2 separate regions of the Homo sapiens genome follow, and region 1 is linked to region 2. The links are contacts of gene promoters, found by promoter capture Hi-C in human tissues and cell types (Jung and others, 2019). All regions are on one chromosome and are shown on one strand. Each heading gives the region's core, a stretch centred on a gene start or on the middle of the fragment in contact. The rest is flanking DNA. Distances are from core to core; before and after follow the strand shown.

The links. The method cuts DNA at HindIII sites, captures the fragments that hold promoters and counts their contacts. A contact is called where the count stands out against the background at its distance.
Region 1: a contact is called between a fragment that was not itself captured here and the fragment with the promoter of PHF14 in region 2, in 1 of the 25 tissues and cell types used here (H1 embryonic stem cells).

The regions. Positions count from the first base shown.
Region 1 is chr7:11,311,570-11,317,794 of GRCh38, reverse strand. No RefSeq gene overlaps it. Among named protein-coding and RNA genes, the nearest start is that of PHF14, 340 kb to the right of the region's middle. The HindIII fragment of the contact is 5,103 bases long and covers 536-5,638 here.
Region 2 is chr7:10,969,490-10,976,389 of GRCh38, reverse strand. PHF14 (PHD finger protein 14) reads right to left here and starts at 2,518. Exons shown (of 18, transcript NM_001007157.2): 1 at 2,066-2,518; 2 at 1,445-1,555. The coding sequence starts at 2,066. RefSeq lists silencers at 1,674-1,723, 2,704-2,763, 3,274-3,323 and an enhancer at 2,454-2,748. The HindIII fragment of the contact is 9,763 bases long and covers 1-6,900 here.

The DNA.
Region 1 (6,225 bases), core at 1,838-4,337, 340 kb before region 2:
TGCACACAGTGGCAAAATGCTACAGTGATTTAACAACCCCAGGCAAAATTAAATAACAAAGCTAAGATATGATGGAGTACATTTCTTATCCAGTCGTAAAGTAATCTGCAATTTCACAAGTTAGAATTTGGTCAGGACCCAGATGTTAATTTCAGTACCAGGCAGAGTGTACTCAAGGTTTAACTTATATCAAACAGAGACGAGGTTTCCAGGACCAGCCATTGAACCCCATGTTGGAATGCAGTAGCTTTTCCTAAAGCAAAATAGCACACTACCAACATCATTGTTCAGCAGCACCATAGGTATCTCTGTGGGAATTTTTTAACAAATTACTGACAAGGGTTGGCCCTATTTAATCCATAATCGTGAATGCCATCAGCGCCTATGGTTAGAGGGCTATAAAGCCAAAGAGTAGCACACACTTTGGTCTTGTTCAGACTAAATTACTACAGAAAAAGGGTCAAATACCAAAGTAACCACGACTGCATCTTTAGATTGCCCTCTCAAAATTGTTATTTGTTTGTTCTGAGGATTTAATGGAAAAATAAGCAATTCCTTTATAGTTGGAAATTAATTTTTTTCTGGTAAACAGATGTTTAACTATCCCATTAAATGTGGATTTATTTCTTCTTTTTTTTTAATCAACACCCACACTTTCTATCAAAGGGTACAAAATTTTTCTGGCATCTTCTTTAGATATTCTACAAACATAATTGTTTGATTATATATAGATAGATACTGATATCAAGCAACTTACGGCTAGAGAGTACAATTTACACAGATTTGAACAGATGCATACATTTCGAACTTAAAAACCACTGACCAAACACTGAAGCATTTTGGTGGTGGTGAGCAAATGCAGCAGTTACATGTGTATTCAGACAGAAGCGTGGGGTCAAGGTTCCTACTGACCTCCATTTTATCACAAAAGTTCTCCAAGAGATAGAGTTGTAGAAAGGAAGTCCAAGTCCAAGACAAAAAAAAAATAAAGACAGATGAAATAGAGATAAAAGTTCAATTTAAAACATTATATACCATTTAAATGAATGGGAATTGGAATAAAGTTTCCCAAAAGGTACACAGAAGGAATAATCTGAATATGAAAAGTTACCACCGTCCTAAAGAGACACAATTGAGGTCACATTAAGGCTACTGGTTAAGTAATGGGTAAAAATCAAAAGAAAAGCCTCTAATCTGTCATTCATAGTGCTTTGCAAAGGATGGCATGTATATTGATTTAATCCTGATAACAACCCTGTGAAGTAGATGTATTATCCCAATTCCCCATAAGGAAGTCCAGGAGGGATGGTGCCTCATCCAAGTCAGTTTAGCTAGTAACCGGTAGAAAGAAAAACAAACTCAGGTCTTTTAGCTGTCTGTCTAGTGTTATTTTCATGCTACCACAGCACTTGTTTTTATGAAGGACAAAGCAGCAAAATGTCACAGTACGTGCACCCGTGGACTGAAGGGTATAACATGTTCCAAGTCAGGTTGAAATATTTCACCTCCATACTCTGTATTTCTTCGGTCTTGCCAGTCACTGGCTGGCTATGGGATCACATTAGTGGTGATGACCCAAATTTCACTGGTCTTGCCCCTACCTATATTGCACACACTTTCAGACTTTTGCAAACCTCTCCAAGAGCTTCCAGGAGATCCGGAAGTATCTCGTGAGTTATTTTCTCACAGTGTCTTAGCTTTTCAGTGACACCCACTGCTTCCAAAACACTCGAAGACTGTGCCTCTCAGTGCCACTGCTACAGCCACAGGAGAATACCCTTGTTTGATCAAGACCTTCTTAAGGTTCCCTTCAGCTTGACTAAACTTTTGACAGGCTTCTTCCTGAATGTATAAGCCCCTGACCTCCCCTTTTTTAGAACATTTACTTTACAAAGCTTACAGATGCAAATTTTTACTCTTTCACTTTGAGATGTCAATCTTCTAGTCTCTTGCTTCACAGTCCAGTGATGTCTGTCTCAAGGACCTGAGAGCCATCTCTTTGAAATGCAATCATCAAGAAAGATAGCACTCTTTTCTCCCAGTCTCTGTGGGAGGGTAGAAACCTAACTTCCATAAGTGGCAATTAGCCAAAACAGATGGCCTAATCACATGACCAGCCTCTCCCCTAATAACTTTTTAAGAACTTTTCTACTAGCCCAGCCTGGCATTTAAAAGTCTTCCCACCTCTTGTTTCAGCAGAATTGTATTCTATTTATCTTCCCTATTGCAAGAGTCTTAAATGAAGTCTTCTTTGCCTGTTTCCCTCCCTTCAGTGCAAATTTTTCACATCAAAAGCGTCACTGCCAAAATCTTCCCAGGACAACAAACCCTCAGAGACTCACAGAGACTCCTGGGAGAATGTCTCTCTCCCTGACTCAGGTTACAGCTTATAACCTGCAGTAAAGCCAGAGGACTCACTTTTCTCATATCTCACGGAGTTCTTTGTGAAGTGTTCCTCTGCTTTCTGGCTGCAAGTCTATAGCCTCAAGCAGAGACAGTGTGGTGGGCAGACACACGCTGCCCTCTTCATCTCAACTCTTGTTTCAGGTGCACAGAAAAAATCCAGAGCCCCTCAATTTTTAAAAAATCAAAATAAACTCCTCATGAACCCACGCAACTAAATAACAAAGATGCTCATACACATTTGAATTCCAGTTTAGTCCAAAACCAAGATCTTGATTTCACTTAGATGAGTGAAATAGTGCAATGGAGATGCTTAAAAATAAAACAAATGAGAGAAAATTAAGTGTTTTTATTCTTTACCCCTTTCGCATTTTTTTAAAGGTCCAATTTAAACGACCACTCATAGAGTATGTTTAAATGCTATGTCTTACACTACATATCAATTTTTCAATTCAACTTTAGATTCCAACCCAGCAAATTTAGAGCAGTTTTACAAGAGAGAGAGAGACAGAGAGAGAGCGAGAGCGAAAAAAGTAGAGAAAAGAAAAAAGAGGACTACCAGCATGGTGAAAACTAGAGAAAGCATATTTCAATTCAGTATTAGGAAAGGGTGTAAGAATTACAGCTGTCCAAGACTTTAATTTGTGGTTGTAAAAAAAATTGTTTTTGTCCATGTTTGGATCAGGGTAGAGGCTGGAGATAGTGCATTCAGGATGTTGTAGAGGGAATTCACACATAGGAGAGGACACTGAAACATCTGAGATGTTCAACGCTGAGATGATACTATTTGATGGTATTACTCTTTGTAAAATATTACTCTTTTGGATCCCTTAATGAGGTTTTCTTAATTTCTTTTACATGTATTACCACCTCATTAACCAAATGGAAAATATTCTCAAAATATAAGAGTATTTTCTGAAATGAACTCCCAATATCAGAAAGTCATTTTTATCAACACATAAACTTTAGGGCAGGGCAAAAACACTGAATGGTGCATTTAATTAAATATTATGTATTGCTACTATCTTTACTCTTTGGCATCATGTGTGTATGTGATTTAGTTCTTCCTTGTGGCAGTCTTCATGCAATTAGGCATTACTTACTCTTGGATGAATGATCTGAGCACTACAGATAGGTAAATTGTTCTTCCTCTTTTTCTACAAATATTGCATTCCATAGTTACCAGAACACTGTGCCAGACATAAAACTACACCAGAAGATAGAATCCCTATTCCTAAACAGCCAGTGCTATAGGAAAGAGGGAGAGAGCTCCAGACAGGAATCAGATGTTTCTCTTTTAGTTATTGTCCGCCACCCCCAGGGTAGAGGGTGAGCAGCTGGGCTCAACCAAGTCTGGAAACCAAGCCAATTGGTCTGGCATCTTGGGCACTGGCTCACTTAATTTCTGGAGGTCATTCAATCTGGCTGGCACAGAGAGCCATGCAATATTAACAACAGCAAAAAGAGCTTACAGATTTTAGGGCACTCTAGTGTTGGACATTCTAGGCTTCAAATCTTAACAGTTCCTAAACCTCTGAAAAATGGCAATAATACAGTGGGCTCTCCTTAACTATGGTTTCCCTTTTTGCGGTTTCAGTTACTTATGGTTAACTTTTGTGGACAATATTCCTGGCCCGAAAATACTAAATGGAAAATTTCAGAGGTAATGTCTAAGTTGTACTTTGCCTGCCATTCTGAGTAGCATGCTGGATCCCACCCCATCCCACTGGGGATGGGAATCATTGCTGTGTGCAGCGTCTCCTCACTGTGTATGCTACCCAGCTGTGAGTTACTTAGTAGCCCTATTGATGATCAGATCGACTGTCTCAGTATTGCAGTGCTTTACTTCATAATGGTCCCAAAGCACAGGAGTAGTGATGCTGGCTACTTAGATCTTTCAAAGAGAAGCCATAAAGTGTTTCCTTTAAGGTAAAAGGTGAAAGTTCTCGACTTAATAAGGAAAGACAAAAATCGCATGCTGAGGTGGCTAAGATTTATGGTAAGAACCAGCCTTCTATCTGTGAAATTGTGAAGACAAAAGGGTTTGGCATTATCGGCAGTTTCAGGTATCCACTCCACTGGGAGATTCAGAATACATCCCCTGTGGATAAGGGGGGACAACTGTACCACATACAATGATCACCATAAGCTATTGTTGTGACAATTAAAGGACAGAAGTGTTACATACTGAAAAGCGAGCCAGGCGCCATAGCTCACGACTGTAATCACAGGGCTTTGGGAGGCCAAGGTGAGTGGATCACTTGAGGTCAGGAGTTCAAGACCAGCCTGGACAACACAGTGAAACTCTGTCTCTACTAAAAATATAAAAATCAGCTTGGTGTGGTGGTGCACACCTGTAATGCCAGCTACTCAGGAGGTTGAGGTGGGAGAATCACTTGAACCTGGGAGGTGGAGGTTGCAGTGAGCTGATATCGTGCCACTACACTCCAGCCTGGATGACAAAGTGAGACTGTCTCAAAAAAAAAAGAAAAGAAAAGAAAAAGAAAAGTGGTTATTATTTTTGAAGAAAAACACGAATAAAGAAAAGAGCCATTGCCACATTATTAAGAAGGGCCTGAGACTATGATTTACATATACCTAATGCCCAAGTTAAGGAGAGAAAAAGCAGATGACAGACAGATAGGCTGAGGCAACATTTGCTAACAGGTTGTAGCAAAGTAGAGTAGATCTATTAGATTCCAATTTCCTGTCCTTCATCAGAAATGTCAGCTACTAACCAAGACTCCAGATACAGAACACTAAGAATTTTGCTTATACTGAACACAAAATGTTCCCTCCCTCATTTGCCTCTTAGTATATATTTAAGGCTCTTGAATATATGCAAAACATAACCTTATGCACCTTAACATGACTTTTTTTGTTACTAGAAGAATTTTAAATAAGTGCAAAAAGAAAAACAAAAACAAAAAAACCACTTGTTTTAAAGCTTTTTAACTCTAGTGGGATAGAATGCTAAGAGTAATAGTAAGTTCTGCCCTTGGCTACACCATTTCATTCTGCTCTAACTGCTATTATTTACCTATCTGATTATGTCACCAAAAAGAGTAAAGCCCATTATATAAGAAAAACCATTTATAGAATGTATTGGAATTGTATAAACTGCTCTACTTATCACAATACATGGAGAGCAGAATTGTCTGTGATTGTTGGAATCCAGCACTCGCGGATTGTGTCAAGAAGAATATAAACAGCCAGATTCCCCATCCACCAAAAGCCCACATGAGTCCCTGGTTCGAATGAGGTTATCAGAATTTGAAACTTGCAGCAACTAATCAGAGTCACGCTATTTGGTTTCACCTAAAAATAAAACATCTGACTACTCCTTTCTTCTGTAGTAATAATGCTATTTTTTTCTGAAGGTGGAGGAAAAACTTTAATGGCATGAATAAAAAGACTAACAGTTTTTCTTTGAAAATATAGCTCCAAAAGGAACAATTCTGTTTCCTTTTTTTTTCCAAGTTACTGCCTTCCTTTTATTTTCACCAACAATATTTTAGGTAAGCTTCTCTTTATCAAATTTTACTTTGAAAGACTATGAGTTTAAATTCTGTTGGTGTTCCCTGCTGCTCTAGCCAGAGCACAGAGAATTATGGCCGAAGCCTATCTTTAAAGTCAGTGTGTTGGCTTAGACACTGGCCAGCTTTCATTACAAAGGTGCTTTATGAATCATGAATCAAATGAATAGCATAATAAAAGCTCACACCTCTGGAAGTATCCATCTAATGCATTTTAGGGGGAGAAAGAATATCTAGTCTCTCTCTTCTGAAACTATGCATGCAAAATAAAAAGGGGTTTTATTTA
Region 2 (6,900 bases), core at 1,269-3,768:
TTATCTGCCAAGGTCTTTACCAAGAGAACTAAGATTTAAATTTTACCTCCTTTCCCTTCCCCTTCCCTTCTTTGGAAATACCAAATATCAGCAAACCAACTAAATGGGAGATAAAGAGCTGAGAAGCAAAGGATAAAAAAACAGTTAATCAAGATAAACTTATCAATTTTTGATTGCTGCGGATGAATTCAATTAGTAACCAAATAGTCAGTTTCTGTTTAAGATTCCGTCCATCAACTCTTGGGATCCAAGCAGATAAACAGACTAAATTCTGAAGTCAAATCCATTGGATCCGTTACTGCCTGAGTGACCTCATGCCAGTTCTTTAAACTCAATACCCCTGTTACCTGTAAAATGGTATCTCCTTCACTAAGTTACTGTGAAAATTAAGTGAGATTATGCAAACAAAAAGTTATCAGTAAATCACAATGCAAATTCTGCTGTTGATGCTACTAAAAGTAGCAACAGTAATATAATTTCGTTCATCCCTTCCTACTATCCCTAGCAGGAAAAAGACAAGGGAAAACCAGAAGAAGGAGAGATGTGACTAACCACGGCAAACTCTCTGGAAGTATATTTAAAAACTGTTGAAGAGATGAAACTGGAAAGGCTTTTACTTCTCATTTTATTTAAATTTTCATCTCACTTTATTAAAATTTTCAAAAGAGGTGGAATTACACATAATTTTCATTGTTCATGTTTATCAGTATTTTTCCCATAAAACATTTAAATTAAACATAATTTTTGTTTCTCAGATTCCTTCAATTGAAACTGTATATATACATAAGGTACACTGAACAGAAAATACAAAGGAAAATCATACTTTTCTGTTTTCCAGTTTAGTACAATGTGAATATACGACCTTTAAAAAAAGTTTTTAAAATTACTAAATATAGTGAGCAAGCATGCATGACTTATACTTCAGAGACATCTGAAAGGCCCAATCCACAAGGTCCAGCACCTACTATAATTTGAAGTGCAACTCTTACTCTGGTCAATTTTATTCTAGTAAAAGAGCTAATACACAAAAAAAGCAAAACTCCCCTAAGAGATTGTCAAGTGATCTGAAAAAAGAAGAACCCTGCTCAGGGACTATTAATGGTCCACACACCTCTCAGGATACTTTTCTACTTCGGGATATCTTTCAGTTTTTTCCTCTATAATATAAGCATAAATATATTTTAAGGTGTAAAACAGAGAAATCCTTTTGCATCTTTGGAAAAAGTCCTTCCCCTGACTGCTAATTATCTCTGAGGAAAACAGAAGCAATTATAGGTCTAGTGACAGGATCTAAAGGCAAAATGGGAAATCAAATGGACAAAATAAATGAAGTTTACGTGCTTTCACTTAAAATTGGCATTTTAATCAAAACCGATTTAAAAAGTCTAAAAATAAGCCTAACTCCAGAAAGCTGGGAAAGGGGAAGAGAGAAGGAAATATTTACCTGAGGCATCTCCAACTTTAAAATCACTGTCATCTGAACTATCATAATCAAGAGCTTCCAGCAGAGAAGCTGCCAAAGGCTTCACCTGCCTCCTCTTGGAGCTGCGATCCACTGTGAAGAGAAAAAAATTACATTGTCATTCATAATCACACCAAACACAGGGGAGAGTTGTGGTGCTAAGAGAACATAAAGATGACCTCGCACAAGGAATTTTTGTCTAACTGAGTTCTCAGCAAAAGGGGTCAGGAGAAGGTTGGGGTGCAGAAGCAGGGTGGGGAGGGCTGGACAGCTCCACGGGCAGTTTCAAAGGCAGCTCCAGCCCTGATGCTGCCAACGCCAACTCAGACCAGCTAAAATCGAAGCTGACCCTCTTGCTCATCTTTTCGAGATGTTTCTGCACCTTCCTCGTAATCCCCCACTTAGACATCGTAACAGTCAATAAAAACGGCAAAAATCAGGGAATAAAACAAGCGGGCTTCATTCCCGCGGACCATGGAGGGCGAGGGTCCACCAATCCTGCTTTCCCGCAGGACTCTCCCACCCCTGCCCTGCTCCCACCGGCCCTGACTTCTAGAATGGCTGAAATGGACCTCTCGCCGCAGAGGCCTCGGATACACTTACTAAGGAATCCGTGAGGTGGTCGTTTGGAGAAGACTTAGGGAGAGGCTGCAGGAGCCCAGGCAGCGCCGAGGTCGGGGACTGGGGCCGCGAAGACAAGTCCGAAAGATGCTATTTAAAACCGGCGCGCAGCCAGCCGGACAGGGGCGCTCCCAAGAGTAGCCCCGCGGTCCCCTAACCCCCCGCCCCCCCGGCCTCGCCTGGCCCTGGCCGCTCGAGCCCCTTCCCACAGCGCTCCCTGGCCGGAGAAGACCTCCGGCCCAGGCAGCGCAGTCAACCCGGCGGCCCCGGGGAGTTAATTTCTCCCGTTAAAACTAGAAGAAAAAAAATTAAAGAAAGAAAAACTTTATTAGCCTGGACCAGAAGCAACGAAAGACCAGAAATTGCACAGCGCGAGGGCGGCTGCCTCAGACAATAGGGAAAGCAGCGACCCGGATACAGCTCTGAAAAGGAAGTGAAAACACGAGGCTGAGCGCAGCCCTGAGAGCAGCAGGAATTGAGGGCGCATGCGCAGGACTCGCCCCCGCGCACCCTTCCCGAGCAGGAGCCGAACAGAGCCGAGTGAAAGCCCAGGGAGCCGCGCGGAGGCGAGCGGAGCCGAGTAGTGCCAAGGCGGAGCAGAGATCCCCGCCAAACCCTGTGCAATTCCGCCCATAAACCCCAAAGGCTCCGCCCTCTCCGCGCCTAATTCACCTCCTGAGTCCAAATCCCTGGGAGGCCAGTTTTTGTTTCTGATCTGTTTTTTAAGGATTTACTGAGTAAACGTTCCACAAAGGGATGTTTGCTACCTTAAGCCACTACCAATATTTAAATGATATTGTCACCGGTAGAGGATCGTGACTGCAAGTTGTCCAGGTTCTTGGCGTTTTTAACAAAGAATTGGACAAAACGCCCAGCAAAGCAAAGAAAGAATGAAGCAACAAAACAACAAAAGCAGGGACTTATTGAAAATTAAAGCACGCTCTGTACGGAAGCGACCTGAGCAGCGGCTCAAGGGCCCGGATACAGAATCTTGAGTCCAAATACCCTCTAGAAGCTTCCTATTGGCCACCTAATGCTCACCTCATGTAAATGAAGTAACGCGCAATCAGTCTGATTGGTTGCAGAAAGCAGCCAACCAGAGGCTGAAGTGAAGTTACAAAGGTCATGCTCCTGTGCAAACATTGGTGCAAAAAGCAATCAATCAGAGGCTAGGGTGAAGTTACAAAGTGGTATACCTCTATGCAAAGGAAGATTTCCCCTGCAATCAGTTTGATTTCTTGCAGATGGTGAAGTTACAAAGTGATACTTCTATGCAAAGGAAGACTCTCCTGCAATCAGTCTGATTTGCTGCCCACAGCCAATTTCCCATCTGCCCTGCAGAAAAAGTGGGGGTTTGCAAAGGGAGTAGCCTCTGGTCCTTTTGTTACTTAGGCATGGAAAGTTAGGGGTTTCCTTTCAATTTAGTTCTTAGGAAGTCGGAGTGACACATCCTTAGGTTCCCTGCCTCCACACCCTATTCTCCTGCCTCACTCTCACCCAAACTATCATTGCCATGTGACCTCTCAAACTTTTCTATTGTGCTATAGAAACTTCTATTCCAAAATGTATAACCTACTTAGTAAACATTTTTCCTTTTCAATGCCCATTCTTTTTACCTCCTCATCTGAAATAGAAACAGTTACCCTGCAGCCCTCTCAAATGAAAACCACTCATCCTTCCATACTTCATTTTCTCAAGGTGCAGAAGTGGCATCCCATGCTTAATACTCCTCATTGCCTTTCAGATATTTATTCTTCCAGTTAAAATCCTAGGAACTTGGTTATTTTAAAAACTCCACTCTGGGAATTTCACTTCCATTCTACTTTAAACACCAACCATATCATGGACTGATAGTCTTATCTATGAAATTATAAATCCAAATATTCCACTGTTTGACAATAGCCTTTTAGATTTATTTGGAGCAATTATGCTGAATCATCTAAAAGAGAAATTCAAAATCTGGCATTCGTGTTTATGTAAAACTAATTTCTAGAAGGAGATTTTCAGAATCAAAATGTATTAATTCATTTACTTTAATAAATAACACCTAGTTGCTCTAGAAAAACTGTACTGCCGGGTGCGGTGGCTCACGCCTGTAATCCCAACACTTTGGGAGGCTGAGGCGGGTGGATCACTTGAGGTTGGGAGTTCGAGACCAGCCTGCCCAACATGATGAAACCCCGTGTCTACTAAAAATACAAAAATTAGCTGGGCGTGGTGGCACATACCTGTAATTCCAGCTACTTGGGAGGCTGAGGCAGGAGAATCACTTGAACCTGGGAGGCAGAGGTTGCAGTGAGCAGAGATCACGCCACTGCATTCCAGCCTGGGTGACAAGAGTGAAACTCCGTCTCAAAAAAAAAAAAAAAAAAGTCTGTACTAATATATATACCACCAAGAGTGGATAAGAATTCTTTCTAGTTTTCCAAACCTGTGGCCATTGGATATCAGCAATCATTTTTTTTTAACTTTTAATTTTGAAGTAATTTCAGATTTACCAAAAAGTGCAATAATAATACTGAGTTTTTGTACATCCTTCACCTAGCTACCACTAATATCAGTATCTTATATAACCATAATACATTTATCAAAACTAAGAAACTAACATGAGTACAGTTTTGTTGACTAAACACTTTATTTATATTTCACTAATTTTCCTACTAATGTCCTTTTTTCTGTTCCAAGATCCAATCCAGAAGACAATATTGCATTTAGGTTATTAATCTTTTGCAATTCATGTATTGAAAGAAAGTAAGAGAAGGAAAGAAGGAGAAAAGGAGGGAAGGAAGAGAGGGAGGGAAAAAGGAAGAAGAAAAGTAGGGTAAAAAGAAAAGAAAAAAATTACCTAATTCCTTTTTTTGACCTGCATTCAATAAACATGGAAAGAACTGCTGGTTGTTTCCCAATACCCATTATCTCCTTTTTCTTCAAAAATGGAAGCTCCAAATTTTAACTGGGCATAAGTTTTCAAAGAATAAAGACATAATATACCAACTTTCTTGATGTTGCTTGGAGTTATGCAGTTAAGTTCTGGCCAATTGCATGTCAGCAGAAACAGTACGTGCAACTTCCAGGAAATGATATTAAATGAAGGGGCTTGAACTTTTCCCTCCCTTTTGTGAATGCTTGTTATTGCTTTTTCTTGCCTAATTGCTCTGCCTAGAACCTGCAGAACATTGTTGAATAAATGTGGTGAGGGAAAGACTTCTTTGTCTTGTTTCTGACTTTAGGAAGAAAACTTTCAGTCTTCCACTTAGTCTTATGTTATCTATAGTTTTTCAAAGATGCCCTTTTTCAGGTGGAGGAACTTTCCTGTTCCTAGTTTGCCAACTGTTTTTATCATGAAAGAGCTTCGAATTTTATTAAATACTCTTTCTCTGTCTATTGAGATGATCATGTGATTTTTGTACTTTATTTTTTCAATATAGTATATTACTATATTGCTTGATTTTTATTTGTTTAATCAACCTTGCACTTCTAGTATAAATTCTACTTAGTCATGTTGTATAAATCTTTTTATAGATGCTAGATTCAGTTTGCTAGTATTTTGTTGATTTTTGCACCCATATTTATAAAGGAAATTACATTTTGATGTCATATAAAGAATTTGTCTTTATTGGTTGTAAACTGGCTATAATAGCATCTCCAATAATATTCTGCTGAACATCTTTAAGGCGTATGTGATAAATTACTCTTGGCATTCTTAACTCAGAATTTTTTGGGGGAGCTGTAGGGGGATGGAGTATTGCTTTGTTGCCCCGGCTGGAGTGTGTAGTGGCAGCAATCTCAGCTCACTGCAACCTCCGCCTCCCAGGTTCAAGTGATTCTCCTGCCTCAGCCTCCCTGGTAACTGGGATTACAGATGCCTGCTACCATCCCTGGCTAAGTTTTATAATTTTAGTAGAGACAGGGTTTCACCATGTTGGCCAGGCTGGCCTTCAACTCCTGACCTCAACTGATCGCCCACCTCAGCCTCTCAAAGTACTGGGATTACAAGTGTGAGCCACTGCACCCAGCCTTAACTCAGAAAATTTTGAGTCTCCTAATGCTCTGCCATCTTCTTGGTAGAATATTTATGTTATGTAATCCATCATGTTTCTCTTTTATTCTAGTTGCCAGGTATTCAAATTCAAGATATTTATGCATGACTACACAAAGAAGAAGAATTATATAATAATTATCATTTCCAAAAAACAGCGAGCACAAACTGCCTCAATGTAGGATTTTGCCAAATAATATTCTTAATGTCCACAATTCTGTCTAATTAAGCAAACTAAATATGACTGCACAAGCATCAGTAATAATTATGAAAAGCAGAGTTCTATATTCAGAAATGGTCTTTCAAACTACTCCAACAAAAGATAGTAAAATAAATAGCTTGTTGTGGACACCTACTGTAAGAAAAAGAAACAAATATGTATACAAAAGACAGCAAACTTAAGAGTCTGGAGATCCGAATTTTGGTCTAGGCTTGGCCACTGAATTTGTGTTACCCTAAAAAAAGGCAACATTGAGCCTCTGATTCATCACCCAGAATCTGGAAATAATATTAATAACCTGTCTGGTTACTTAAAGTTTTGAGAAGCAGATAACAGTGTACCCTATTTCCAAAATTACTCTAAGAAAAAAGTCTTTTAAATCCAAGAAATTAGAGGACATGCAATGAAAAAATGATGTAAGAGAAAAAGAAAATAAGTTAGAATTAATTGTGAATAATTGTCAACACTGAGATTGTGGGATTTAATACAGTTTTATTAAGCAAGGATATGCAAACTAGAGGGGTCATAATTCTAAATTACGGTAACCAAATCCAAGAT